Regions from separate parts of the Homo sapiens genome. Here regions 2, 3, 4, 5 and 6 are each linked to region 1. The links are contacts of gene promoters, found by promoter capture Hi-C in blood cells and fetal thymus (Javierre and others, 2016). All regions are on one chromosome and are shown on one strand. Each heading gives the region's core, a stretch centred on a gene start or on the middle of the fragment in contact. The rest is flanking DNA. Distances are from core to core; before and after follow the strand shown.

Region 1 (4,618 bases), core at 1,382-3,881:
AGCTGACAAGAAGACACCAGGACAGCCCTTGCGTGAGTTGCATCGAAGACAGGAGACCCGCCCACCCTCCCCTCCTTACCATCCTGCAGGACCTGAGACCACCAGCCATAGCTGGTCCCTCATCGCCTCCCCCTATCCCCAGCCCTGGCCTCTGCATTTGGGCAAAGGCTATGGAGGAAGAGGCTTTGGCTTTTTGGCCCTGGCTTCAGCCAAATCCCCCAAGCACCTCGTGGAGGAGAATGGCTGCACCTGGGAGCCACGTGGGCTCCATGGAGGCCCTAAAGAGACCAGGCCTCAGCCCCAGGTGAGGCTTAATACCCCCTCTCCAGGCAGAAAGTAACCATTTCTTTTCCAGTGGTTCTCCAGCTTAGGGTCTCCAGCCAGACTGGCCGCTTATGGGCCAGGTGTAAAGAGAGGGACAGAGGGGGCAGGGAAGTGCGAGTGTTCTCAGGCCACTGGGGCCCGTCCCCACCCACACCCAGTCATCAGCCCCAGGGACAGCCAGGCCCTCCGCAGTGCAGGGTACACCCCGATTCTGCAGCCGGGCCCCAGGGCCCAGTGCTTCCTCCAGGCTGCCCCGGGCTCCCTCCTGAGTGGCAGGCCCAGGCCCGGACTCTGGCCCCAACCCGCAGGCTCAGAGGCAGCCCTGCCTTCCACAGACCAGGCCACGAGTTGCCTGTCACTCAGCTCTTCTGCCTGGTTGGTCACACTGAAAAGAGCATCCCGTGGCTGGGAGGCATGGATATCAGCTCCAACTCGGCTCAGGAAGCAAGAGCTGGAAACCCAGGCGCAGGAGGCATCTTCAGGCCCGGCGCATGCTGTGGCAGCTGCCCCAGGTCCTCCCAAACGCCACCTGCCAAACTGGCCCTCCTCCCCATCTGGGTTTAGCAAACTCCTACTCATCCTCCAAAGCCCAGAGCGAAAGGGCTCCTCTTCCATGATGCTCCTCTTCCAAAAGCAGCCCAGGGTCTCCCCTACGGCACTCAGCACCCACCGCAGACACTGTCTGTGTCCTTGAAGCTGATCTCCCTGCCAGACGGGCAGCGGCCCTCGAGGGCATTGCAAATGGGATGCCTGACAAGAACAACCCTTGAGGATTAGGAAATAGGGGTCTGCTGGAAGCCAATGCAGGCTGGATCTGAGACCTCCTGAAGACAAAGCGCAGGGAGCTGTGCTCATGCTCACACTGGGCATGGGGTTCACACTGTCTGCTGAGGGCTGCTTCCCTGTCCTGGAGGATGGGAAGGACAGAGGGGAAAGAGGGGCTCACCCACATCCTGCTCTCTGCACAGTGCCCCCTCCAGCGCCTGTCCACACAGACCAGCCGCACTGCAGTCCCTCAGAAGCCCTAGGGTTCCACCCCATCTATGCACCCTCTCCCTGGGTTCATGCCTGCTCCCCTGGGCCCACCCCACCCATGCGCCTACTCCCCCCACAGCCCACCCATCCCCAGAACCCTCCTTGCCCACATGCCACAGCAGTATACTTTTGAAGGCAACACTGAAGGTGGGGAGTTTCTGAAATCCTCTGTGCTTCCATCTCCTCTATGGGCGCACCCCAAGAGGTTGGGAGAGCGAGGTGCTGGTGCCCAGCCCAGCACAGATAGATGAGGCCACCGTCCAGTCTACTTCGTTTTTCCAGACATCTCACACCCATAACTGGCCTGAGGAACCTCATTCCAGCTTCCAAAGAACACGGAGTGCCAAGCACCACCACACCCCAGGCTCCACACCTCCCAGAACCCTTGTGGTAGGGGAAGGAGGGGGTTACTCTGCCCCATTTACCTAAGGGAAACTGTAAGGCCTGGATGGAGAAGTGCCCCCCCTCCAGCTCACACGGCTACCAGGCCAGAGACCTTTGCCCCACCACACATGTTGGCCCACAGATGAGGCGGTGAGTCATTCAGCCACATCACAGACGGGAGATCCCCTGCCCCTTGGGAGGAGCTGGAGTCCCCACACCTGGGATCCAGTGCCAGGCTTTAGCACGGACCCCTGTGTGCCCACACCCACCCTGTCTGAACCCCCCATTAAGGGACTCGTGTTTACACACCGGTCCCTGAGTCCCCGATTTCTGAGAAAATTAATTGGCAGGGTAATTCTCACTAGAGTGTTGTTGACTTCTCCATTTGTAGCTTGCTCTTTCTGACAGTATCTGCACTGCAGAGGGAGAACCTGAAGAAGACCTCACCTGAGCTCCGAGGTGTGGATTTCTGGGCAGATTTGAGACTTTGTGGCCCCTGCTAAGGGGATATAATTGAGGGTCCCCATAAATCATGACTCGGTCTATGAGGAACCAGCACCTAGCTGCATCCCCAGCCTCTTCCTTCTTCACACCCAAGCAAAACCCCAGGTTCCAGCCCCACCTAGCAGACTGAGGGCAGGCCATGGTCCCCCCTGCTCCATTCCAGACTCCACTCTGGCTTTTCTCCTTCAGGAAACCTCCTCATAACCCTCAGGCTGGGTCCGGGGCCCAGGCCCTACAGATGTGCTGGGTGCTGGTGCTGACAGACAGGACGGCAACCGTAGCTGGACCTCACCCTGGACAGCATCGCCACAACCCCCACTGGTCCACCTGGGAGAACAGAGACCCAGAGATAGCCACACACTGTCCTCTGTGCCCCTCATTGCCCCCCAGGCCTTTGGAGGTTCTGGGGGTGGCTACTGCAGTTTAATTTGGGCCACAACCCCTAATGAGCAGCCCAACGGCATGGGGGGCAGTTTGTAGGCACCCAGAGCCTGAGCAATGTGGCAGAAAGTCCAGGGGGCCTTCCAGGGGCCTCCAAGTGACCCAGGTATCTGGCAGAGCCCAGCTGGCCCCAGGGCTCCCAGTCCCGGCCTCCTGCTCCCCGGCCCATTGGCCCTGGCTGCAGCCTCAGTTGTACCAGCTGGGGAGTCCCAGATTTCCTGTACCACCACCCCACACACTTGGTCCCCTAAAGACCTGATACTGAGCTCTTGCTAATCATCTGGCTGTCACTAAGCTGCCCCACAACCATTTTCAAAGAGTCCCTGATTTTTAAGGCCCATAAAACACTGTGAAATGGCCTTTTTCAAACATTGAGGGCATTAATGACCATGGCAAAAACAAAAACCTGTCCAGGTGGCCAGTTTTTAGTAGCTCCCAATACAAAATTGCCCCCACCACGCAGCCCCCACCTGTCCACGCCCCCTCCACTTACCCACCCCGAGGGATTCTAGCCAGGACCCCTGCGTCCTGAGAAATCCTTTCCAGGAGTAGGCTGGGGAATACCGGCCCAGAGGGGCGAGGACCGGATGGGGGCAGGGGTAGGGTTCAAGGGGCCAGGGTCCCAGGGGCTCTCCTGGAGGCTGCAGAGGAACCCAGCCTGGGTGGGGGGCTCCGACGCTCCACAGCCTGTCCTGGCCCGGCCAGGCCCGGCCCGGCCCGGCCCCCTGCCCAGTCGCGGCACTGCCCGGCCCGACCCCCAGACCTTCGGGGTGCCCAGTCCGAGCCTGGGCCGCTAGGGGCCGCGGGCCTGGCGGGCGGGGCGGGGGCCGGGGTCGGGGGTCCGGCGAGCTTTAATGCGCGCACAAAGCCTCATTTGCAGGTCAATGCCGCGGCACACTCGCCTCTCCCCTCGCCCGGCGCCCTTTGTCCGGCCGCGCCCGCTCCTCGCGCCAGATGGCCGCGGAAATGCTAATTTCGGGCGCCCCTGCCCCCCCACCCCCGCGTTTAATTGCGCCTTTGCAGATGGGCCGCGAGTGTGCGCTTCATGCAGATGAGCGCGGCCTCGCCGCCTTCCTCGGACCTCCGGGAGCCGCGGCCGGGCGTGCTGGGGCCGAGGGCAGGGAGGGGGCCGCTGTCCCTCCACTCGACGCGCCGCCGGGCACGGGCGGGCACCCAGCGGCCCGGGCCCGGGAAGCGCGCTTCTCTCTTTTCATTTCTCCAAAATGGGATCTTAAGTGATTCTGAATGAAAACAAATTGGCCCGCTTTCTTCTCCAAACAGACGCGCGGCGCGGTGGGGGCGGCGGGCGCGGGCCCGGGGCGGCCCGGGCGGTGGGGTTGGCTCCGGGACCCCCTGCCCGGCCCGGCCCTCGCGCCTTCTCCCCGCGGCCCGCCTTCCTCAGCCCTGGGCCGGCGGCACTTGGAGGCGGCCGGGCAAGACGGCAGACGTGGGGGCCCCTTTAACCGGAGCCAAGGATCCCCGGACTTTCTGACCAACCAGGAGCAGAAGCCCGCCAGGTCACCCTCGCCTTTCATGACAGAAACAGATTCCCAGGCTGGTCGGAGCGCAGAAATGAGGCAGGCCAGGGCCGGCCTCCGCCACCCCGCCCATCTCCAGCCCCAGCAGGAGCCTGGCCCAGGCCTCTGGCCCCACAGCGCCAGGGAGCATCCTCCGGGAGCCCAGGCCTGCCTCGAAGCCTAGGGCTGGGGCAGGCTGGGCAGAGTGAGGGAGGGAGGCAGTTTCTTTGTGATGTGTCCACTTTACTAGCAAAATTTCAACCACAAACTTAGAAAACCTATACATTGGTGGGTGATTCACTTGCTCCACCACCAGCGATGAAACAGAGACAGAGCCACGTTCTGGGTAAGTAAGAATACTCCCAATACAAAACTCAGCCACAGACCTTTAAAAAGAAAAGGGTGCCGGGCGC
Region 2 (4,618 bases), core at 616-3,115, 420 kb before region 1:
AGAATTTGCATGGCTTCATCTCACCCTTTACACTTGAGCCTCTGATTCATTTGAGATTTATTCTCGTGTGCGGTGAGATGGACCCAAGGTATGCTTTTTCTTTCTTTATGACTGTCCAGTTGTCCAAACGCTGCTTATTCAAAGCTCACCTTCCTCCTGCTGAGGTGGGAGGGGAAGGCAGAGACTCCATGCAGGTGTATGTATGTTCACCCGGAAAGTAACTGCTGAATGCGTGCTGTGTGCCCTGCAGAGCTGACTGACTGCCCCCATCTTCTGACCCGCTGCCCTTCTGCACCTTCACTGATATGCTTCCCAGGAAGGTACCCTCTCCTCGGCCTCCCTTGTGTTATCACAGCGCCCAGCACAAGCTGGGACCCACTCCATCCACTCTTGCTGCAAATACAGACTGTGCACTCCTGTGTGGCACCTCACTAGGGTGGGGAGTCAGGCGTCAAGGGCCTGGGCTGGACTCCGTCCACGATAAAAGAGCAGACTTTTGGCAGGGGGTGGTAGATACATCAAATTGACCCAGGGTGCTCAGGGACGACCTGGAAGTGTCACATGAGTTATGGGTCTCCTGGCGGGGCGGAGAGTCACCGCTGAGCTCCACCTTTAGTCCCTGCCTCAGGGCTGTGTGCAGTATCCTGAAAAAAGCCGGTCTCTTCTGTTGGCTGCCCCCCACCCCCCCCCCAAGCCTGAGACGTGCTGAGACCCAAATGCCAGTAGCGGGCGGGAGGCAGTGCAGAGACCTGTGAAAATCTTCCGATGTGACCAACCCACCCCCACCCAGGGGAATCCACGGGGCGCAGCGGCAGCGCGGTCTCGACGGTGGGGAGGACAAGGCGCCCATTCTCCAAGTTACTAGGGTGGCGCAAGCGCCTCTCCCTTTAACTGCCCAGGCAGCCCCGCCTGCTATGCCCGGCAGTCAAACCAGGTCCAGACCCCGGCTGTGCCGCCCCCACCCCCCAGCAGCCCTGCCGGCTCCCCACCCACACAGCTCCCACTGGGAGGTACCTGACAGTGGTGGTCCCATCTCACCCTCCCGGTCCAAGGGCCCTGGTGGGAAGCGACCCGAGCGTATTCGCCGCCCGCAGCTCGCGCGCCTGGGCACCCGGGGGCGCTCACAGTGATCGCGGGGCCAGCACACCCTCACCCAGGACATCCCTTTCCTCCCCCCAACCCCAACTCCGGAGTGGCTCAGAGGGAGGGAAAGTAGATGCCGGCACCCTACCCCGCCCCTCCTGCCCCCGCTGTGCCGTTCTCGGTCGTGGTATCGGCCAGGCCTTACCCCTTCCTCCCTGGCGCAGCTGGGGTCCTCCTCCGGGCCAGGCAGAGCAGGCGGGCATCAGAAGTGGGGGCCAAGCAGGTGGGTGAGGGCAGGGCAGGAGCAAGCAGGGGAGATGCAGACGGGGCGGGGCCAAGCAGGTGGGTGAGGGCGGGGCCAAGCAGGTGGGCGGGGAGGGGGCGGGGCCAGGCGGGGTAAATGCACACTGGAACGGGGCCAAACAGGTGGGCGAGGAGGGGGCGGGGCCAAGCGGGATAGATGACACGAGCGGGGCTAAGCAGGTGGGCTCGGGCGGGGGTGGGGGTGGGGGCGGGGGCGCAGGCGGGGGCGGGGGCGCGGACAGGCCAAGCCAGGGGGTGAGGCGGAGGCAGGGCCAGGCCGGTCCGTGGGGAGAGGGCGGGCCAAGCCGGTGGGCGCGGGCAGGGACGCCCTGTGCGCGCCGGACCGGCGGGGGCGGGGCGTGCAGGCGGGGGCGGGGCACGCCGTCCCATGGGACCGGCCCTCGGCCACTGCCCCCTCCGGCCCCGCCCCGAGCGCCCGGGCTGGGCCGGCAGCGGCCCCCCGCGGCGGGGCTGGCAGCAGTGGCTGCCCGCACTGCGCCCGGGCGCTCGCCTTCGCTGCAGCTCCCGGTGCCGCCGCTCGGGCCGGCCCCCCGGCAGGCCCTCCTCGTTATGGCCGCGGCCTCCTCCCCGCCCAGGGCCGAGAGGAAGCGCTGGGGTTGGGGCCGCCTGCCAGGCGCCCGGCGGGGCAGCGCGGGCCTGGCCAAGAAGTGCCCCTTCTCGCTGGAGCTGGCGGAGGGCGGCCCGGCGGGCGGCGCGCTCTACGCGCCCATCGCGCCCGGCGCCCCAGGTCCCGCGCCCCCTGCGTCCCCGGCCGCGCCCGCCGCGCCCCCAGTTGCCTCCGACCTTGGCCCGCGGCCGCCGGTGAGCCTAGACCCGCGCGTCTCCATCTACAGCACGCGCCGCCCGGTGTTGGCGCGCACCCACGTCCAGGGCCGCGTCTACAACTTCCTCGAGCGTCCCACCGGCTGGAAATGCTTCGTTTACCACTTCGCCGTGTGAGTATCGCCACCGGCGACGGCCGGCACGAAGGTGCTTCCTGAGAGCTGGTGTGGGGGAGCTCTGTCCCAGCGCCACCTGCCCCGTCGGAGCTGCGACCCCGGAGCAGAGGAGGGAAGGAAGTGGGGAAACGCAGAAACACAAACTCTGCACTCTCCCTTGAAGTTCAGAGGCGCTGCTGTGTCTGGGGGTGCGCATCTTCTCGCAGGCCCGGCGTGGGGAGGGAGCCGGCTGGGGAGGGGACCACCTGGAGCCCAGAATTTGGCTCCACACCTCCGGGAGGGTAGTCCAGGTGTGAATCCTTCTGGGAAGAGAAGCGTGCTGGGGAGCGCACCCTTGGGTGCAGTAAGATAACTCCTCAAGGTCGGCTGAGACTCGAGGCTCAGGAGCCCCCAAGAGAGAAGGCCCCTGATGTCCGGTGCCGCATCTCAGACCCCCTGAGGCCCAGGTGGACTCTGGGGCAGGGGGCTGTCCAGGATAGGAAGGTGACGGTGGCGGTGCTCCCTGAGGGCTCAGCATGCCACGGGCCGTCCCCACGGGCCCCACATTAACTAATTGAACCAAGCTCATGAAAACCTGGCTTGATGCAGAGAGCGGAGAGGCACGTTTGCAGCTCTCACTAAGAGGCAGCTGTGCTCCCGGAGAAAGCAGCGCTGGTAGCAGAGGCACCTGGCCCCCCTGTTACCAGGTGGTTCCAATTCCCGGTACAGCGTGCCTGAGCAGGGCTGGGCACTGGATTTCTCAGGGACAGGCCTGGGAAGTCACCTCCGGGAAGGTCCAGGCTGCTCTCCTCCATGCCTGCCTGGGGCCTTCCCCCGCTGCCCCAGTGGCCCTACTTCCTGGCTGCCCAGCCAGCGGCCTTTTGGTGTGGTGCCAGCCTCTGGCCTGGGAGCCTCTACCCAGACATCCCATGGCTGATGGCTGTGGGGCTCACCTGAGGGCTGAAGGGTGGTCTCCCTGAGCGTCCTCAGGTGGAAGCATCTCCTCTGCCTCGGGCAGGCTCAGTAGAGAACTGGCTGGAGGGCATCCAGAGGCCTGTCCATGCCTGCTGGCAGCTGCCACCAGGGCCTCAGGGCGGGTGACAGCAGGAGCCAGGCCCCAAATGGCTTCAAGCATCGTCTCAGGTGAGGGGGTGGGGTAGGGGTCGCAGGGCTACTGCCTTCCTTGCTAAGAGGTGGCCTTCCACATCAGGAAGGGGAAGTCTTACCCACCTCCCTCCTCAAAGATGTGGTTGGGGGGTGATCTTGGAGACTTTTCCCCACCCCAGCTCCCAAGCCCCTGTCTCCTGACATGTCAGTGGGTGCCTGAGCCACAGCCGCTGCTGGTCTGTGAGAGGAGCTGGCTCTGCTCGTGGCTGCAACAGCGGGGGCTCGGCTTGGGGTTTGGGAGATATTTGTGTGCAGTGACCCCAGGGGAACCCAGTCCGATGCCACTGTGCAAATGTCTAGCAGATGCCAGGTTCACAGGTGCTGTGTGCTGGTGGCCACCTGCCTCCCGGACCCCAGACTCTCTGAGATGTCCAAGGGTGGGAAGACCTCCTCAGCCAGAGGCCAAGGCAAAGTGCCCGCAGACCCCCTCAATTCTCACTTGTATTCAGGTTTGTGGACACATGCCTCCGGGCTCACTGCAGCCACCCGTGTGGAGGAAGAGGAGGAAGAGGGCTCGCCACGCCCCAGAGGAAGTCTCTGCTTGCACTTGTGTTTTCTTCCTCATTTGGATTGTTTAGGTCTCGGAAGTTTGCTCAGCAAGAGTCTACCTTCGCCCAGCCTCCGCAGAGCTGGCAAGGCAGGGGTGGCTTCTGGGGACAGGGGCAGGATGGCTTCTGTGAAGGGGTGGCCAGGAAAGGGATGCTTCTGTGAAGTGGCCAGATCTGGGGCTGGTCCTTTCCAGTTCTGGGTCCTGTCCTTGTAAGACGTGTGCCTGGCCCTGGGAAGTTGTCATGAACAGCCTCCAACCCAGGTACCTCCATGTGGGGTGGGACTGGAGGTGGACCCTGACTGGGCAGGACATGTGGCTTGGTGGGGGCCTGGGAGATGCGCTCCCACCCTCAGTGCCCTAGGAGGTTGGCAGGACCAGTCTCTTGAGGGGAGACCTGGTCATAGAACCAGGATGGCAGAGTAGCTGGAGGCCACCTGCAGCCTCACGAAATCAGGTCCAGCCTTGCGCCAGTCCAGCCTTGTGTTGCTGTAAGAAGTCTTGGCAATGGTGGCGGAGACAGGGCCCTGTCCTTAGGTGGATTGTGAAATGAGAAATATTGTGGTTTCTGGCCTGAAGA
Region 3 (4,618 bases), core at 1-2,500, 350 kb before region 1:
CTCTAAGTGGAGCATGGAGTGTGGGGTCATCGGGCAGGACACGAGATGCGCAGGAGGCTGTGACTGAGGTGGCTGTGGGATGGGACGGCGTGGTTTGCTCTAGAGGGTTTGAAGGAAGGGTGAGAAGTCAGGACCACTGCTGTAGAAAACAGGGTTTGCAGGTAGATAAGGTGGCGGGTGCAGCGGGAGGAAGAGAAAAGGATGCTGCTGGGACCCCTCGCACCTGGGAGGATGCACTTTCTGTTTCTGACATGGGTCAGGGTTGGGGCGAAGGAGTCCAGCTGGGGACATGTTATTTTGGAGGTGTTTGTGAGGCAGCCAGGTGAGGTGGGTTGAAGGCAGTAAGACCTGCAGGTGGGAGCTCTGGGGAGAGAGTGCGGGCTGGGCTCACAAGTTAGGGGAGGTGTCAGTGTGTAAATGACATGAGCGCAGGGGCTAGACAGGGCCTCCTGTAGCCTGGGTGGGTGGAAGGGCAGAGGGCAAGGGCCAAGTGATGGCAGCTGTGGAGGCTGAGGGCAAGGAAGGCAAGTCCGGGAGGTTGGGTGTCCTGCAGCCTCCACAGGGGCAATGGAGGAAGAACAAAGGACTCTGTGTTGAGCCCTCCTGAGAGGTTTTGGAACTGGCCTTGACTTGGTGATGTGGGGTTATGAGTTTTATTCCACACACGTATGTGGGAGTCTGGGTCCTGGTGGGTCCCAGCCCCGTACATGGAGGCTGGGACCCTGCCCTGAAACCTCTCAGACACAAACACCCAGCTCGGCCCCACAGAGCTGGCCTGGGCCCCAGCAGGGGTCTGTGTTGCCTTGGCCCCACGGCAGTGGAGCTGGGGTTTCCCAGGGATGCTGCTGCTGAAGGTGAGGTTTGCAAACACTAGGCATGCATGTTTGAGGTACCACAACCTCCACCAACCCATGGTGGTCACCAAGGGTCTTTGGGCTCCTGTGGGGACCATACTGGCTTGTCTGACTTGCCGTTACCCGGCGGAGATATGTCTTGGAAAGACTTTAGGCCAGGAGCCCATCATTGTCCTGGAACCTGGGCTTGGCAGGGCAAGCTTTGGGGAGCACTGTCCAGACAGTGCCCTGGACACTGCACCTCAGGTCAGGACACAGCTCCCGAGGCCTGGCTGCTCTGCATGGGGAGGAGTGTGGGTCCTGAGTGGAGTGTCCCATCTGTCATGCAGAGAGGGTGATGATATAACCAGCTGGGTGTTCGCACCTGAGAGGTTTCGGGGCAGGGTCCCAGCCTCCATGTACGGGGCTGGGACCCACCAGGACCCAGACTCCCAGACTAGCAGGTGGGCTTCTCAGAGCACAGAGGGTGTGGGTGACCCAGATATCCTGTTGTTGCTCAGAGACCCCCAGGGAATCCTTGAAGATGGCAGTGACCACCTGGCTTCCTCTATAGAAACTCCCCGAATGGGAGGGATGGGAAAGACTGTTGAACTAAGCTTTTTAGGAAGAAAGCCATCAATTCCCCTGCTCTCATACAGGCTTGAGGAGGGCTAAGGAAAGTCACAGTTGAATGCATGCTCCCTCCACACCCATGTGCCTGATGCACACAGCCTGGCCCTTGTGGGCACTGGAGGGCACCCTACAGTCACAGAGGCAAACGAAGAATGTAGAGCTCCAGCTGGATGAGGGCCGTGGGGAAGGGGCACAGCCCTGGGCAAGGGTGTGCAGAGTCTGCATGGGATTTGACTGAGCAATCTGGAAGGCTTCCTGGAGGAGGAGCTATTGCTCAGGGTGAAATAGAGGTCTTGAAATTAGTACAACACATGCCCCATACTGGGGAATTTGGGGGTCCCTGGGGGAAGGACTCTGTTACCAAAAGCACACAGCACAGGTTGGGAGAGCAACTATCTCAAGGCTTTTATTTGCTGTTTCATGAAACTGAAAATTTAAGTTTTTAATATCACATATTATTTCATGAAGAGTGGCTTCGGACTTTGGGGTAGGGTCTGGTAGGATCCCAGGGCCCCTTCCCTTGGCATCATCATTGTTTCCCCTCCATGTTCAAGTTCAGCATCTCTGCACCCCTTGCCTGGCAAACCCCATCTTCCTGTCCAAAGCCAGACTTGGCTCCCTTTGCTCCAGTGAGTGGCCGTTGGCTGGGAGGCTGGGTCTGTGCTGTGTGGGGGGTGTTTGGTGTCCTAGGAGGAGTCTCTGTCCTGAGCAGAGACAGAGGAAGGCAGGGCAGCCTGCTCAGAGGATGAGCCCAGCTATTCTGGGAAGCAGGCAGGAAGTGGCAGCTCCAGGTCCGGGTGTGAGGGCAGTAGTGCAGGTCGTGGTCCCAGATGGCCACGGAGGTGTCAGCGTTTCACTCCCAGCACGTCACGCCACGTCCCTTTCCTCTGCTTTGTTCCTCCTCAGCTGTGAACTGTCTGGGACTGGGCCAGGAGACAGTCCTGGGATAGGGAAAGAAAAGAGGGGCTTCCGGGGGTGGGGAGCGGGGCTGGGCGGCTGCTGGCTGAGCCAAGTGGACTGGGAGGTGTGGACAGGGAACCCTGGCGGGGCCGGCCAATGGTGGCGTGATGCAGCCTGGCTTGGGAAATGCCCATGGAGGTGACAAGTGACAGCCGGGAACAGACCCACTGCCAGGGCTGCCTCTCTCTTTAGATATGTCCTGGCATCTGACTTTGGTTTCCTGGTGTTTAAAGGCTAATTGGGATCGGTCGTGGTGCCTCAGGCCTGTCAATCCAGTACACTGGGAGGCCAAAGTGGGAGGATTGCTTGAGCCTAGGAGTTCGAGACCAGCCTGGGCAACATAGCAAGACCCCATCTCTAAAAAAAAAAATTAAAATATTAATACTAGCTGGGTGTGCTGGCACATACCTGTGGTCCCAACTACTCGGGAGGCTGAGGTAGGAGCATCACTTGAGCCCAGGAGTTCAAGGTTGCAGCAAGCTATGATCTTGCCACTGCACTCCAGCCTGAGTGACAGAACGAGACCCTGTGTCTAAAAAAAAAAAATTTTTAAATAAATAAATAAAGGTTTGTTGGACATGTTAGCTCACGCCTGCAATCTCAGCATTTGGGGAGGCTGAGGCAAGTGGATTGCTTGAGGCCAGGAGTTTGAGACCAGCCTGACCTGCCTGGGCAACATGGTGAAACCCCGTCTCTACTAAAAATACAAAAATTAGCTGGGTGTGGTGGCTCACATCTGTAGTCCCAGCTACCCTGGAGGCTGAGGTGGGAGGATCACTTGAGCCCAGGAGTAGAGGTTGCAGTGAGCTCAGATTGTGCCACTGCACTCCAGTCTGGGTGTCAGAACCAGGCCCTTTCTCAAAGGAACAAACAAGGCTAACATGTTGGGCTTTCTCTGCTTCTGGGCAATGTCCGTGAAATTGAAGCCGCACTGGTGTTGTTCCACCCTTCCTTCCAGCTGGTCTCTGAGGCCCAGGCCAGATGCTTCTCTGGTTAGCAGCAGATTCTAGGCCAGAGCCTGCCTCCAGGTCCTGGGAAGGCTGGCACGCTCAGATGCACTCCTGGGCGTGGCCTTCCTCCGATCACAGTGTGAGCGAATCTCCCTGCCCATCACTCTGCTCCCCTGGCCCAGACCAGGCCATGCCTCAGGGCTTCTGCACGTGCAGTTTTCTCTGCCTGCAGGGTCTGTCCCTAGCTCTCTACCCGATTCAGATCCCACACCAGCTCCTGGGGCAGCCCTCTTGCCCTGCCTCTCCCCGAGACGTCACCCTTTCTCTTTTCCCCATTGGTGGTGGTTTTATGTGTTCATTTACGGTTTATTTTCTCTCTCCCTGTGTCTGTTATCTGTCTCTGCACCCCTGGAGCCCAGCGTGGTGCCAGGCACACACTACGTGCCTCCTGGGTTGGGGGCAGCAGGGACAAAAGCCAGGCATGGGATGTGGCTCTTGTGGGATGCACCTTGGGTGTGACTGTCACGGAAAAGGAGGAGACGTGGGGTGGGGAAGGGGGCAGCCCCTACTGTTCCTGGCAGCAGGGCCAGAATTGAGAGCCAGAGGTTGCCACTGGAGGGCTTCCTGGGGAGGCAGCTGGCACCGCCTGATTCCTGTTTCTGAATGCCCTCTCACTCTCCCCCACCCCCATGGAACCAGAACCACCTCGTCAGGCCCAGCAGCCCTTCAGGGTCAGTCTCTGCATGGGTGGTAATATGGCTTACCTGAGTCCTGGTCAGTCTGTGGCCTGGGAGTCCACCCTCCATGACTAGTGGTTTGTGGCAGGTGACGGGTGAGTGGTCTCCATGCTCCCAGCCGCTGTGTAGAGGTGCCAACCTGCCCCTCCTGCCAGAGCTGGGCTCCTGTTGGGCGGGACTGAGGATACCGAGACAGAAATAAAACTGCTAAATGCATCTGTTGTTGAATAATTCAATGCCCCATGCCAGGCCTGTTGCAAAATTAGCCACTTCCTCCCTCCAGGCCCATGAGTGACTCCTGGATTTGGTGAAAGCCAGGCCTAGTGGAATTGTGGCCCGGAAGGTTCTCTGGGAGCTGGGAACCTCCATGCAGGAGCCCAGGGGAGGGGGTGCTTGGCCACATGCGGGCCCCTCAATCTGCCCTGTGGAGCCCGGCCTGGCCTGCAGCCCCCTGTGCAGGGAAAAACCCGCGGTTTTCCCTGGTGGAGGGCACAGGTCAGAGCGG
Region 4 (4,618 bases), core at 916-3,415, 320 kb before region 1:
GGCTGGAAAGAGCCTCATCAGTGAGTGCCACGTTCGGTGGGGGTCTCTGGTGCAGGGGAGCCGGCGGGCCGGGTTGGGTTATGTCCTTGTTTTCACATCTGACCCTGGCCAGCTGGAGAGCCTCGCTTGAAGCGCAGGGCAGCAGCTGACACAACACAACGGGACGGGCTGAGCAGGCCGGGCGCAGGCAGGCTTGGGGGAGCTGGCACTGGCACTGCACGTGGGGCTCCTAGGGGGCTGCTAGGGAAGTCATTGGGGGATAATAGGATCCACCCTGTGGGGCCCACTGGCCATGGAGTACTGCACAGTGGGGTCCACCCGCTGTGTCCCTGAACAAGGAGGTAGCCTGAGGTCTCCTCTGACGCTGGGCAGCAGCCTGGGGAGGGGGCTGGGCAGGTGCCAGGGGAACCCCCTAGAGGGCATTACATTCAGATGAGTTCTAATTATGTTCTTGGCTTCCCAGGTCACACAGAGTGAAAACCAGAGGCCCTGGCCGTGCACCATTGAAGTGTGTCATCATGTGACTTTGCAGGTTGGGGGGACAGGGCTCGGTGCGGCCTCACGGGGTCAGGAGCCACGGCTCGAGCACCTCGGATCCCAGCCCCCTGTTCAGGGCCAGGCCTAGACAGCTCTTCCCACGAGATTTTCTTTCTCCCGGGTATAAAACTGGCCAACGGGATGCCTGGTGGGATGACTGGGGTACCTGGGGCCAGGGGCGGCCAGCAGCCTCCTCAGTAGCTTGTGGGAGATGCTCTCAACCCCAAGGTCAGCTCCAGCTGGCCTCAGGAGGAGTGGATGTTCCCTTCAGGTGTCTTTAGGACCCTGGCAACTGGGGACAATAGTCTCCTCCCCAAATATGCAGTCTTGACTCCTGGCCACTTGGGAAGGTGCGTTCTGGTCCTCTGGGCCTCACAGCTTTGTGCCCTCTAGGGTGGCAATGGGAGGCAGAGAGCACAGCCTGGGGACTTGCTGTGAGGGGACTGCATTTAGATTTTTAGGTGAAGCCAATCCCTGTTGGGCTGAGAAAAGTCCTGGGCGGCTGTGAGCTGGTGGTGAGTTTTCCAGACTTGGTCATGGTCAAGGTAGTTGAAGTCGGGGGTTGAAAAACACACTCGTGTCCAGCCCAGATGCCTTATGGAGAAGAGGATGCACAGGCACACACGCACAGACATATGTGCACGGATGGGCGTGTGGACGTATGCACACATAGGTACCCATGTGGACACACTCACGTGTGTGTGCACGTTCAGGCTCAGACACGTGCCTGCATGCACACGTGCACACGTGCACACCCAGCCCTGGACCTCAGGCAGGCAGGGAGAGAGACCCCCTTGGGGCCGCGTTCCATTTGCACATTTAATCCAGAAACTGTCAGCATGGGAAGCCTGGATGAGAACAAAATGTCAAGTGTGTGCCGAGAGGCGCAGGCCAGCCCCTTTTCCTGGCGGGGTGATGATCTGGTCAGTTTCCGAGCACCATGTGCTGAGAATGATGCGTGCATTCAGAGCAGCATTTGGTGGGGAACCTGGGGGAAGGGCGGGCGTCTTTATTTCATTTTAGCTTTCTTTAGCGGGGCCTGTGTCTCTTCTCACTGACCGTTTTCTGAAACTGGCTGGGGAGGGTCAGGGATGGCTGCTGTCCTCGGGGGAGGGACTGAGCTGGGCCCTTTTCGTTGGTTAGTTCTCAGTGTGGCCTACCCAGCCAGGTCCCTGGACCTGGCGGTGGCTATGAAAGCCTGGGATTGAGGACAAAGCCATGGGGACGCCGTTTTCGGGATGCTTGTGAGCAGGGCTTTGTCCCCACCGTTAGGATACTCTGAACGTTCCCAGAAAGCCCCCTTCTGCTCAAGTTCTCTTGCTTCATCTCAGGCTCAGGTGTTTTGAGTTTTTTTTTTTTTTTAAATGAGGACATCTGTTAGACCACTTAGGAGTTCTAGAACCTTTGGAAAACCCCCTCTCATCCCGGGAGTTTGTAAGAATTTGTAGTTTCTCCCCAGAGTTCATGGAGCCCCTGTCAGAGGCGCTGAGGCCCAGGTCCTGTGGCTGGTCCTCGCATAGACATCAGCTAAGGGGGTTTGGGGGCCAGTCGGCAGCCTCTGGAGGCCTCTGCACCCCTCCTGTGAAAGGCCGGCGCAGAGCTGCACCGTGGGGTCCCCTGGCTTGGGGTGGGCCTCAGAGGCTGTCGCCGTGCCTGCTGTGGCTCTCCATGGCCCTGGAGCCTGGGATTGCAGAAAGACTCCCAGACCTTGCTGGGGAAACTCCAGGATATGGGGGTATCCAGACTCCTGAGACTTCCCCGTGGGTCCACACACGTCACCAATCCTCTCTGCACCTCAGCTTCCTCATGTGTGAAATTCAGGTCATATCAGGACCTCAGTTCCTGGGGCTGTGCCGAGGGTGTGGGGACATTGGGCATGAAGGTTCTCAGTCCAGAGCCAATGGCCAAGAGGGCAAAAGGGTGTTGGTGGACGATGCCTCCTCCCCTGGCGGGGGCGGGGAAGGAAGTGCTAGGGGAAGCCGGTGTAAGGGGCCCCGTGCCCACCAAAGGCGCGCTAATTGCGAAGGAGGGGCCTCAGCCAGGAACCGCCATAGCCTCAGTTTTATTTATTCTGCTCACTCAAACAAAAAATCAGCTTTGTTGAGGTATAATTGGCATAGAGTGGAAGGCCTTGTTTAAAATGTAGGATTTGACAAATCTGGACATGGGTGTACGCCACAGGACCATCACCACAATTGAGACAGCAGGCACATCCGTCACCCCCAGAAGGCTTCTCGCTCCCGTCGCTGGCCCCTCCTCCGCTGCTCCTGGCTCCGGAGGGGACCCCTGGTCTGTCTTGTCAGTGTAGACGGTTGGCGTTTTCTGGGGCTTGTTGTCAGTGCAATCATACAGTGTGTGGTTTTTATTGTCTGGTTCCATATTTGAGAGTCATCCAGGCTGTGGCATGTAATAATTCATTCCTTTTTCATTGCTGAGCCGTATCCCATTGTACGGACGCATTGCAGTCTGTTTATCCACTTGTGTGCTGGCGGACTCTGTATAAAAGTGTTTGTAGGGACTTATATTTCCTTTCTGCATGGGTAAATACCTAGGTATAGAATGGCTGGATAATGTGGTGAGTGTATATTTTTAACTATTTAAGAAACTGGCTAACTCATCAACCCTTGACGTGGTCCGTCATTTTCATGTTAGCCAGTCTAAGAGGTGTGCGTGGCATCCTGCTGTGGTTTTAACTTTCATTTCCTAAGGACCAGTGATGTTGAATATCTTTTCACGTGTTTCATTGGCATCCAGGAAACATCTTTGGTGACATATCTTTTTAAATGTTTCACCCATTGTAAAATTGGGCTGTTTGTCATCTGAGTTGTAAAAGTTCTTTGTATATTCTGGTTACATAGATATTTGTTTTACACATGTATTCTCTAGTCGGTGGCTTTCCTTTTCATTTATTTAGTAGTATCTTTTTTTTTTGTTTGAGACTGGGTCATGCACTGTGCTCAGGCTGGAGTGCAGTGGCGTAAACGTAGCTCACTGCAACCTCGAATTCCTGGGCTCCGAGGATCCTCCCACCTCAGCCTCCCAAGTAGCTGGGACTATAGGCATGTGCCACCACAGGTGCTAACTTTTTAAAGTTCTTGTACAGACAGGGTCTCACTTTGTTGCCCAGGCTGGTGTCAAACTCCTGGCCTCAAGCGATCCCCTTGCCTCGGCCTCCCAAAGCGCTGGAATTACAGGTGTGAGCCACTGCTCCAGGCCCAATAGTATCTTTTAAAGACCAAACATTTTCAATTTTATGAAGTCAAATATAGCTTTTTCCTTTTAAATATGTTTCATGCTTTTCACATTCTATTTAGGAAATGCTTACCAAACACACTCTTACTAAGATTTTCTGCTAGTAGTTTTATAATTTTTGTGCTTACCTTTAGGCCTAGGATGCATTTTGAGTTAATTTTTCTCTATCATGTAAGACATAGGCGGAGATTCATGTGTTTTTTCTTATGGATGACTGACTGGTCCAGTGTCATTTGTTGAAAAGAGTATCCTTTACCCAGTGAATCATCTTGACTCCTTTTAAGAGGTTCAGTTTATCATAAAATTGTCTCTTTCTGGACACTCTACTGTGATCCGTTGATCTGTCCTTTTGCCAGTCACACACTGGGATTGTTACAGCCCTATAATACGGTTAAAATAAGTTAGGGTAATTTAGCCAACTTTGTTTTGCTATTTCAAGTTGTGTTGGTTGTTCGGGGTCCTTTGCATTTACATATAAATTTTGGAAGCTGCTTACCAATTTTTGCAAAGCCTGGTAGAATTTTGTTTGGGATTGCATTCAACCTAAAGATCAACATGGGGAGAATTGATGTCTTAACCAATATTGAATCCTCTGATCAATGAGATTATCTATCTCATATATATATATGTGTGTGTGTGTATATATATATGTGTGTGTGTGTATATATATGTGTATATATATATGTATATATGTGTATATATGTATATATCTATGTATATATATGTGTATGTATATGTATATATATGTGTATATATATGTGTATATATATGTGTGCATATATGTGTATATATGTGTGTGTATATATATATATGGTTACATACCTAATAT
Region 5 (4,618 bases), core at 1-2,500, 290 kb before region 1:
AGCAAGCCCAAGCTTGAGCCCAGCCTGGATGCTCCACCCCAGCCTGGTGCCAGTGACCCTGGCCTGCCAGGCTGATGGTGTGCTCACCTTCCTCTGAGCTGGGGGCAAATGAAGACAGAAAGTCAGAAATGAAAAACCCAGGCAAATCAAGGACCCGGTCAAGGCAGGGCCACCAGACTCCCTCCCGAGGGCTGCACTCAGATGGGTTCAGGCTGCACTGGCCCCTGGCTCTGTGGGGTGAGGGGACCCTTCCTCTCCCTGAGGATCTCCTGGGTCCTGGTCCATTCTTGGTTCTGTCACGTGGCAGGAAAGAGAGCTGGGCAATCAGTGGAGCCCGCGCCGGCCCAGACAGTGGGCCTAGGGCGACCCCAGGGCTGAGCCTCATTCTGGGGGTAACCCCCACCCGCCACTTACCGGAGTTGTGAGGAGTGGGCTATATTGAAGCCGGCCCTGTGCATGTGAACCGCGCTGGAGCGGCGTAGGACGCCCAGTGATCGCTGGGACTCGCTGCCTTAGGCGTCTGCACAGGAGGCTCCCAGCCTGCGGTTCCTGGAGCCCGACACTGTGTGTTTTCTGGCCTAGGAGCTGATAACCACCCTGTACATCGGCTTCCTGGGCCTCATCTTCTCCTCGTACTTTGTGTACCTGGCTGAGAAGGACGCGGTGAACGAGTCAGGCCGCGTGGAGTTCGGCAGCTACGCAGATGCGCTGTGGTGGGGGGTGGTAAGTCGGAAACTTCCAGGCATGGGGACAGGGGCAGCTCAGGCTGAGGAGTGGGCAGGACATCTGGGCACTGGTGTCTTGAGACTTCGGGCCTTGGCAGGGGCTTCTCACCTGCACGCTCACAGGCCTCTGTCCACAAACCTGTGCTTGGAGCCGCTGGCACAGGTCCCCACGCTCAGTGTTGAGTCCTTTGGCATCACCATCTTGAAGTTCTGAATGGTCTCATCCTTGAACTTGAGATTTGAGAGGGAAATCGGAGGGGTCACTGGAGCGTGTGTTGGGGGCTTAGCGGTTTCGGCTCCCCCATGGCTCTGCCTCCCGCCATCGTCCTAGGTTGCCCATTCCCTGCCTCCACCGTGGCCCTCACCCTGGCAGGGCCCAAGGAGAGCGGCGTCAGATGCATACCTCGCGTGTCTCTGAGGGTCCACACAGGCCCTGTAAGTGCCCCTGTCCCCAAGGAGCCAGACATGAGACAGCAAACAGGAAAGACCATGATGGCTCAAGAGACCCCAGCAGAGATCAGAGAGCCCCCGTGTTTCCAGTGGATGCTGGGCCTGCAAGTTCTGGAGCCGGGCCTGGGCAGTGGCGACATAGGTGCAGCTGGGCCTAGGGAAGCAGGGACCCGGCCTGTGGGCCCAGAGGCTGCCCCTGGCTGTGAAGGTGGGTTCCGGCCACCTAGAGCAGCCCGGGAGCCTTGGGGAAGCCGGTGTGCAGCAGGCAGATCCCGCACTGGAACACCGAGCCACCCAAAGCTCAGAGAGGCTGTGCGGGAGGGGTGGGGCAGGGTGTCTTGGGCCGTGTCTGTGGGGGCTTCCTTGAGGGACTCAGGCTTGCACGTGGGAGAGGGAGATGTTCCGATGAGGATGCAGCTGCAGGAATCAGGGTGCGCCCTCCGAGCTGCAGGCTCCCCAAGTCCCAAGTCACTGGCCTGTGGGCCCAGCAGCAGTTTCTCATGGCTCAGAGGACGCTGGCTGAGGCATTTTTAGGGGGCAGGCCTAGCTTGCCAGTGTCCCTCTGGGAGCTGGTGGCTGCCTTCAAATCCTCCAGTGAAAGTCGGCGTTTATATATGCATGGAGCTCAAGGGCTGCTTCTAGGGGGAACACGTGGGTACCCCGAGGGGAGTAGCTGGCTGGAGGCCAGAGTGCAGGGAGGGAATGACTCCATCCCATCTCCCCCCACAGCTGCAGGGCCAGGTGGGCCGTCCACAGGCCACTAAGGCCCAGGGTGGCACCATCACACCTTGGGGAGTGGCCCTGGGTGGGGACCGAGAAGCCCAAGTGCCGAGGTGACAGGGTGACCCCTACTCTGCCGCCACAAGCCTGCCCCCGCGTCTGCCCTTGTCTACCGACCTCCGGGCTCACTCAGTCCGATAACAGGTTAGATGGAATCGTGGTAGCAACAGGGGCTGGGGGCTGGGGAGGAGGCCGTCGAAGCCCACACAGGGTGGGAGCCAAGGCCTGGGGGCCGCACGGGGGCTGGAGGTGGGGGCGGGCAGGGCAGCCGTGGGAAACACGTGGTGGTGCCAGGACCCAGTCCGTCTGCCCCGAGTCCTCCTTCCAGAAAGGACCGGACTTGCTGGCTCTCGGGACCCCCCACCACCATCAGAGCATATCTGGGTGGGGTGAGAAGCCTCCCGGTGGCTCCCCAGGCAGGCACGTGTCCCTGCGATTGCTGTGCCTCCTCCCTCCCCCTCAACCGCCGCTTCCCCCATGAGGCCAGACACTCAGCAGTGGCTCCTGACGTAGGCCAAGTCAGCAGGTTTTCTGGAAGCTTCCAAAGTGCTGCAATGCTCAGGGATGGCAGGGGCATGCTGACACAGCTCCTGGGTTGGGGCAGGCCCCACTTTCGGCCTCTTCCCGCCTTCCTGGGGGCCTGTGTCCCCGAAGGCCCCAGTGTGGCAGGCCTGAGCAGGTTTGGGCAGCAGGGCCCAGCCCCCCTGCGGGAGCCTGCCTGCAGTGAGTGTGGATGGGTAGGGCGTGCTCGGGGGATGGACGGCCCAGAGCCAGGAGAGTTCCCGGGAGGCTGGTGGCAAGGTGGGCAGTGAGGAGCTGGCGGTGCAGCAAAAGCCAGTGGGTACTGGCCCCGGCACGGCTGATAAGCAGTGCCCAGCCTTCGCTGCTGCCCTGCCTGCCTTCCCAGCCGCCCACTGGAGCTGTGGGCAGCGGACGCTACTCCCCAGCCCCCCAGCCCGCAGCAGAGCGGCACTCCCACTCCCACACCTGTGCAAACATCCGCCCGCTGGCCGGGAACACGGCCCCTTTGTGCCCGGCTTGGCATCAGTGCCCCGGCCCACACCGTCAGCTGCAGCCCGAGCCTCGGCCATCGCGCGCCCTGGCCTGGCCATTGTTCCCGCCAGGCCCCGCGCCCCTGGTCGCCCTGGGCCCCCCACCGCCCAGGGCTGTGGGGCAAACAGCTCCCATTCAGCTGCCCTGCAGCTGTCTGGGGGGAGCGGCCCCTGAGGCCTGAGTTATGGGCTGTGTTCCTGGCATTTCTCGGACAAACAGAACTTGAGAAACGCAAGAAGGGGCAGCAGCCCAGATGGGGGCTTTTAAGCCAGTTTTGCCAATTTGCAACTGCGCCCTGAGCAGTTGTTTTCTTTCAGCTCCTTTGTCCTGCTTCCTTCACCCCACCGGGGAGTGAAGTACGCCCTCGCCGGCCAGGCAGCCAGGGCTGCTCCATGTCTGTCCGTCCGTCGGGGCTGCCACAGGCCCTTACTGGGTGGGAGGTGGCTTCCTGGAGGCCAGGCCATTCTGATCATCATGCTGCATCTGCCCCAGACCTTGCCTGGACTCTGTGGACTCCTCACCCCTCAGACACACCCTGAGAGGGTGCTGGAGCTGCCACAACAAAGTCCGCGAACTGCTGGGCCCAGAGCAACAGAAACTCATGGGCTCTAGAGGCCAGAGCCCGAAGCGAGGTGTGCACAGGGCCTGCCCCTCCGAAAGCTCAGGGAGAAATTTCCTCTCCTCTCCCCGTGGCTGGAGACTCCAGGCGTGCCCGGTGTGCGGCCGCCTCTTTCCTCTGTGTCAGGCCCTGTCTCTCATGAGGACACTTGCTGTTGGCTTTAGGGTCCACCCAGGTGATCCAGGAGGAGCTCATCTTGATTGAATCTTCAAAGAGCCTATTTCCAAATATCGCATTCTGTGGGTCCAGGTGAATATGAATTAGGGGGGATGCAGTCCAGCCTAGGACAGTGGGTGGCCCAGGTGGACTTCCTGGGAAGGTCCCTCCCCTTGCCGGCCACCAGTTTCCACAGCTGTCCAGCGAAGGCGCCGGCTCAGTGGTTGAGTGTCCCCTCCTGTCCCCTTCGCCGGGGTGGGGATACGCAACTTGGATGTGAGAACTCTCGAATCCCCTGAGTGTGGCGCCTGCCCTGGCTGCCAAGGCGTTTGGGGAGAATTTAAGACTTTTCTTTGCCCTTGGAACAAAATGCGTTTGTTTGTGTTAAAGTTTGAGTGGAGGGAGAAGCAGTTTTTGCAAACACGGGCTTCTCTGTTCAGCGCCCGGGGGTCTCTACAAACAGGAGGCTGCCGGGCTGTGTTTGCCCCTCTGCACCTAAATTTAGAATTGAAAGTAAAGAAGCTGGAACCCCATTCCTACATTTCAGCCGCCTTTTGAAGTCGAGTCTGACTGCCTGCTGTTCACTCTCTCCTCACCTGGAGCCTCCAGAAATTCCCGCCTCCCTGGCAACGCTGCACCCTGGCGGGGCAAGGCCAGAAGGGGCTGGGGGCTGGTGCAGGGGTGTGCGTGAGGGCAGGGCCTCCCAGACAGTCACAGGCCAGCCCTGTTGGCACTGCCCAGCGGGAGGGGTGGTGTCAGGAAGAGCTGGGGAAGCCAAGGCGCCGTGGGCCGAGGGGCGGCAGGACCTGGCCACCCACCGAGCCCCTGGGTCAGC
Region 6 (4,618 bases), core at 1,064-3,563, 260 kb before region 1:
TCACGTACCATTTCAACAATCCTAGGGCCCTTAAGAATTATGCTAAATCTACTCTGCTTATGCTCTATAATGAAGCAACAAAGCCCGATGACAGTACATCTGTTGACAACATGGTTTACTGAATATGTTGAGCCCATTTTCGAGACCTATTGCTCAGACAAAAAGATCCCTCTCAAAATGTTACTGCTCATTGACAGTGCACCTGGTCATCCAAGACCTCTGATGGAGATGTACAAGATTAGTGTTGTTCTTATGGCTGCTAACACAACATCCATTCTGCAGCCCATAATCAAGGAGTAATGCCAACTTTGAAGTCTTATTATTTAAGAAATACATTTTATAAGGCTATAGCGGCCATAGATAGCGATTGCTTTGATGAATCTGGGCAAAGTAAATTGAAAACATTTTAGAAAATAATCACCATTCTAGATGAAATTAAGAACATTAGTGATTCATGGAAGAACGTCAAAATATCAGCATTAACAGGAATTGGGAAAAAGTTGATTCCAACCCTCATGGATGACTGAGGGGTTGAAGATTTCAGTGGAGGAAGTAACTACTGATGTTGTGAAAACTGCAAGAGAACTAGAATTAGAAGTGGAGCCTGAAGATGTGGCTGAAATATCATTAGTTATTAGAGAAATGCAAATAAAAAACACAATGAAATACCACGGCCCAATTATTATATTATATAAAATGAGGGAGATGGATGATACCAAGTGTTGGTAAAGATGTGTCGGAGGTGGAACTCTCATATGCTCCCGGTGAGAATGCAAAGTCCAAAGCGATGCAACCATTTGGGAAACAGTTCAGCAGTTTCTTGATGTGTTAAATACATACCTACCATATTCTACAGCGATTCTATTCCTAGGTATTTATCCAGGAGAAATAAGATCATATGCATGCCACCATTTGTACATGGAATATTCATAGCAGCTTTATAAAAACTGGAAACCCCAAACTGGAAGCAACCCAAATACCCATCAACATTTGAATAGATTTTTTTCAAAGTTGTAGTATATTCCTAAAATGGAATACTACTTAGAAATACAAAGGAATGAACCACTGATATGCCTACAATATGGATACATTGCAACATAATTATGGTGAGTGAAAGAAGCCAGACAAAAAAAAAAAGAGTACATGGTATCTTATTTATGTAAAAATCTAGAAAATGACCACTAATATAGAGTGACAAACAAGTCAGTGGTTATCAGTGGTTACCTGGGGATCAGGGGTAGTAGTAGGAGGGAAAAGGACAAAAGGGCACAAAAAAACTTTTGGGGCAGTGGATATGTTCATTATCATAATCATGGCGATGGTTTCATCATGTGTCAAAAGTTACCAAATTGCACACTTTAAACATAAGCAAGTTATGTCAATTATATCTCAATAAAACTGTTTATAATATATAATGTAAATATATAATATATATTTTGCATAGCAAAAAAACATACTGAAAATAATTTTTTATTGATAACCTAAAGAAACCAGTTGCCACTCACCTATAGGCATGGGGCTAATTTAATTGCTATATAAAAACGCTCTTGTAAATCAAGATAGAAGTTAAAGGATATTAAAACAGTTCACAGAAAAGGAAATACCAATAATTCTTAAGAATGAAAATATGCTGGATGACTTCAATTATGACAAGAGAAATGCAAACTAAAGCAATGGGGTTTTTGAAACTTATCTGATTATTAAATATCAAAGAGTTTGATAACACTCTATGGGTATGTGTACATGGAAACTCTCAGTCTCAGTCATTGATGTTAGAAAAATAAATTGATACAAACCTCTGTGGAGATAAATAAGGCAATTTCAATCAAAATTAAAGATGCATATGCCTTTGAATCATTCTAGAAATTTATTCTACACATATCTTACACATTTGCAAAATAATCCATCATCAGGATATTGATTTCTGCAATTGTTAAATAGCAAAAAATTGCAAACCACCGACATACCCATCAGTGGAGGTCTGCTTCAAGTATCATATCTCCGTTAAACAGCCATCAAAACTGTGAAGCTTCACTCTCATCACTGATGCAGGACATCCCTGATATCTGATCCTAGAAATAACAGTACATCTTTCAGAAGAGTATGAAATCTGCCATCATGTGGGGGCAAATACAATGGTTTACAAAACAAAGTTTTATCTACCTTCCTTGTTCTGTGTCTTGGAACTGTTTGAAGAACATTGGGATTATCTTTTCTGTAGAGGTTAAATAGAATTGAGTTGTAAAACCATCTGGGCCTGATACATGTTTTATAGGATATCTTTAGTAATTTCTTTTTAGTCTGTTTTATGATATGTTGTTCTAAATTAGTTTATTGCATCTTTTGGAGTAATTTATTCATTGCTATTTAATTTCCTCAAGCATTTCAATTGTGTTGCCACTTGGTAGCAACTGATTTTTTCCTTTAGTGATTTTATGGTCTTCTCTATCATCTCTTCGTTTTTCTTTTCCTTTATGCCTGAACTTTTGTGGTTTTTCTCCTTTTTTCTTAATCAAGCACATGAGAAATTTATGTTTTATTTATATTTTATTATCAGAAAACTATCTTTGTACTCTTTGTTATCTATTTCATTAATCTAAGCTTTTATAGCTATTAATTCCCTTTTCTTGGCTAACTCTATTTTTGTTTTCTTTTACTTAAGAGTCATAGTTCATTTATTTGAAGTTCTTCTACTAAAGGCATTTTTAAAGGCTATAAATTTTCCTCTGATTGCAGCTTTAGCTGTGACACGTAGATCTGATTATGAAATATGTTCCTTTTCATTGCTTTCTTGATAGTTTTAATTTTGTGTTTTGATTTTTCTCTTTAGAGTTCTTTTAATGTCTTCTTAATTTTTAAGCAGTAAATTTTTATCACTGTTATTTATTTCTAATTTAGTAGGCTTACAGTGAAAGGATGTAGCCTATGAAGTCTCCACTTTTTTTAAAATGAAGATTTTCTTTGTCTCCAAGTATGAAAATAACATCATTATTTTTGTAAATGCTCCACAGACCTCAGAAAATATCTTCTGTATTTGTATAACACAAAGTTTTATTTGTATACATGGACAGACAAAATGTACATTGAGATGGATTGTGTATACATACTTATTCATTGCCTCATTTAGGTCTGCTCTGCCCTTAGTTAAAAAAAAAAAACCCTAATACATCTGCCAAATTCTGAGACAGGAAAATTAAATCTTCCTGTACAATTATGTTTCTAAAAATTGAGTGGCAGGTTTCATGGAGTGGTTTGGAGCACAGCCTATATGGCCAACCTTCTTTAGGGTCATAGCCCAGCTCTGCCATTTTCTTATGTGGCCCTAAGCAAGCTACTGCATTCTCTGTGCCTCAGTTTCCACATCTGTGAAATCAGGATCCTAACTGCCTGCTCCCAGGACTCCTGTGTTGACTGAGTGAGTTAGAACATGTAAGTGCTCACCCAGGACCCATATGCAGCAAACAGTCTTGTGTCTCTGTCTGCTGCCAAATTGGCCTCAGGCTCTATCAATACCAGATCTGAATAGGGGCTATTCTTTCTTTTAGTGTCCTTAATGTTGTATTACTTTCCAATATTCACACTTTAACTTTACAGATGAGTAGAATGGAATAGATGTGTTTCAGTACAGAACTTTTTTCTTATGTTTGCTTGGGCTCCCCTCCTCTCTGTTACCTATGTTGATAATCTAGGATTTGTTGTCTTACATTTTTCCTGATGTTCATATAATATTCAATGAAATAAAATACATGTGACATAATGAAGGCATTATCATTGTTTTCCAAACTCACGGGATCATATCATACCTGCTTTCTGCATCTTGTTTTTCTCAATCAGTAAAATAGTAAAAATGCCTCTAAGGCTGCTGAAACAATTTTATTTTGATTTAATTCTATCTCTAATTGAATTTTATTTCTATTTCAATTCTATTCTAAAATTTATAATCTCTGCTTAATTTCCTTTGGTGTACATACTCTGTGATGTTCTCTATCGCTTAAAATTCATTTTGTTCAAGAACATAGGTTCTTGAACCTGTTTCTATGTACAGAACTTTTATTTCTATGTGTTAACTTTCCAGGATGTATTAGTTTGCTAGGACTGCCATAACAAAATACCACAGGCTGGGTGGCTTAGACAGCAGACATGTATTTCTCACAATTCTGGAGGATAGAAGTCTGAGATCAAGGTGTCAGCAAGGCTGCTTTCCCTGAGGCCTCTTTCCTTGCCTTGCAGATGGCCGCCTTCTTCCTGTGTCATCACATGACCATTGCTCTGGGCACTTGCACCCTGGTGTTTCTCTGTGTGTCCAAATATCCTTTTCTTTAAGGGCACCAGTCACACTGGATTAGGGCCCACCCTAACAGCCTCATTGTAGCTTCATCACCTCTTTAAAGGTCCTGTCTCCAAACATGCTGAGTCACGTGCCGAGGTATTAAAGACCAGGGCTTCAACTGCAAACCTTGTGGGACACAATTCAGCCCGTGACACAGGAATAGGCTTGTTAATTTCAGTGATGTAGCCAGGTTGTTTTTCTCGTTTTGTCTGACCTTGAATTCCACAGGCAGGGTTCCTCTTTCCCGGCCGGCATTCCTGCCCACCAGTCCTGGCAGAGTGACTTATT

The links. Contacts are between HindIII fragments. The CHiCAGO score rates a contact against its expected background, and 5 or more counts as called.
Region 2: a contact is called between the fragment with the promoter of KCNQ1 here and the fragment with the promoter of KCNQ1-AS1 in region 1, in 4 of 17 cell types (erythroblasts, non-activated CD4 T cells, M1 macrophages and 1 more). The highest score is 7.0, in erythroblasts.
Region 3: a fragment that was not itself captured here is called in contact with the fragment with the promoter of KCNQ1-AS1 in region 1 in 4 of 17 cell types (total CD8 T cells, naive B cells, M1 macrophages and 1 more); the score reaches 5.5 in total CD8 T cells.
Region 4: a fragment that was not itself captured here is called in contact with the fragment with the promoter of KCNQ1-AS1 in region 1 in 17 of 17 cell types (megakaryocytes, M0 macrophages, neutrophils and 14 more); the score reaches 15.7 in megakaryocytes.
Region 5: a fragment that was not itself captured here is called in contact with the fragment with the promoter of KCNQ1-AS1 in region 1 in 7 of 17 cell types (naive CD4 T cells, M1 macrophages, erythroblasts and 4 more); the score reaches 6.3 in naive CD4 T cells.
Region 6: a fragment that was not itself captured here is called in contact with the fragment with the promoter of KCNQ1-AS1 in region 1 in 6 of 17 cell types (M2 macrophages, M0 macrophages, M1 macrophages and 3 more); the score reaches 6.8 in M2 macrophages.

Annotation. Positions count from the first base shown.
Region 1 is chr11:2,858,938-2,863,555 of GRCh38, forward strand. KCNQ1-AS1 (KCNQ1 antisense RNA 1) reads right to left here and starts at 2,632. Exons shown (of 3, transcript NR_130721.1): 1 at 2,053-2,632; 2 at 1-2. RefSeq lists an enhancer at 4,022-4,618. The HindIII fragment of the contact is 10,846 bases long and covers 1-4,618 here.
Region 2 is chr11:2,443,143-2,447,760 of GRCh38, forward strand. It overlaps KCNQ1 (potassium voltage-gated channel subfamily Q member 1), which reads left to right and starts at 1,866. Exons shown (of 16, transcript NM_000218.3): 1 at 1,866-2,342. The coding sequence starts at 1,957. TRPM5 (transient receptor potential cation channel subfamily M member 5) reads right to left here and starts at 1,372. Exons shown (of 29, transcript NM_014555.4): 1 at 1,289-1,372. RefSeq lists silencers at 1,666-1,775, 1,786-1,855. The HindIII fragment of the contact is 13,739 bases long and covers 1-4,618 here.
Region 3 is chr11:2,507,320-2,511,937 of GRCh38, forward strand. All of the region lies in intron 1 of KCNQ1 (potassium voltage-gated channel subfamily Q member 1), which reads left to right. It overlaps LOC124902613 (a long non-coding RNA gene), which reads right to left and starts at 4,272. Exons shown (of 3, transcript XR_007062553.1): 1 at 4,141-4,272; 2 at 2,835-2,958; 3 at 2,142-2,407. The HindIII fragment of the contact is 396 bases long and covers 1,053-1,448 here.
Region 4 is chr11:2,539,821-2,544,438 of GRCh38, forward strand. All of the region lies in intron 2 of KCNQ1 (potassium voltage-gated channel subfamily Q member 1), which reads left to right. Among named protein-coding and RNA genes, the nearest start is that of KCNQ1, 97 kb to the left of the region's middle. The HindIII fragment of the contact is 9,571 bases long and covers 1-4,618 here.
Region 5 is chr11:2,572,264-2,576,881 of GRCh38, forward strand. KCNQ1 (potassium voltage-gated channel subfamily Q member 1) reads left to right here. Exons shown (of 16, transcript NM_000218.3): 6 at 583-723. Among named protein-coding and RNA genes, the nearest start is that of KCNQ1OT1, 130 kb to the right of the region's middle. The HindIII fragment of the contact is 2,481 bases long and covers 11-2,491 here.
Region 6 is chr11:2,595,464-2,600,081 of GRCh38, forward strand. The region is part of intron 10 of KCNQ1 (potassium voltage-gated channel subfamily Q member 1); the gene reads left to right. Among named protein-coding and RNA genes, the nearest start is that of KCNQ1OT1, 100 kb to the right of the region's middle. The HindIII fragment of the contact is 572 bases long and covers 2,028-2,599 here.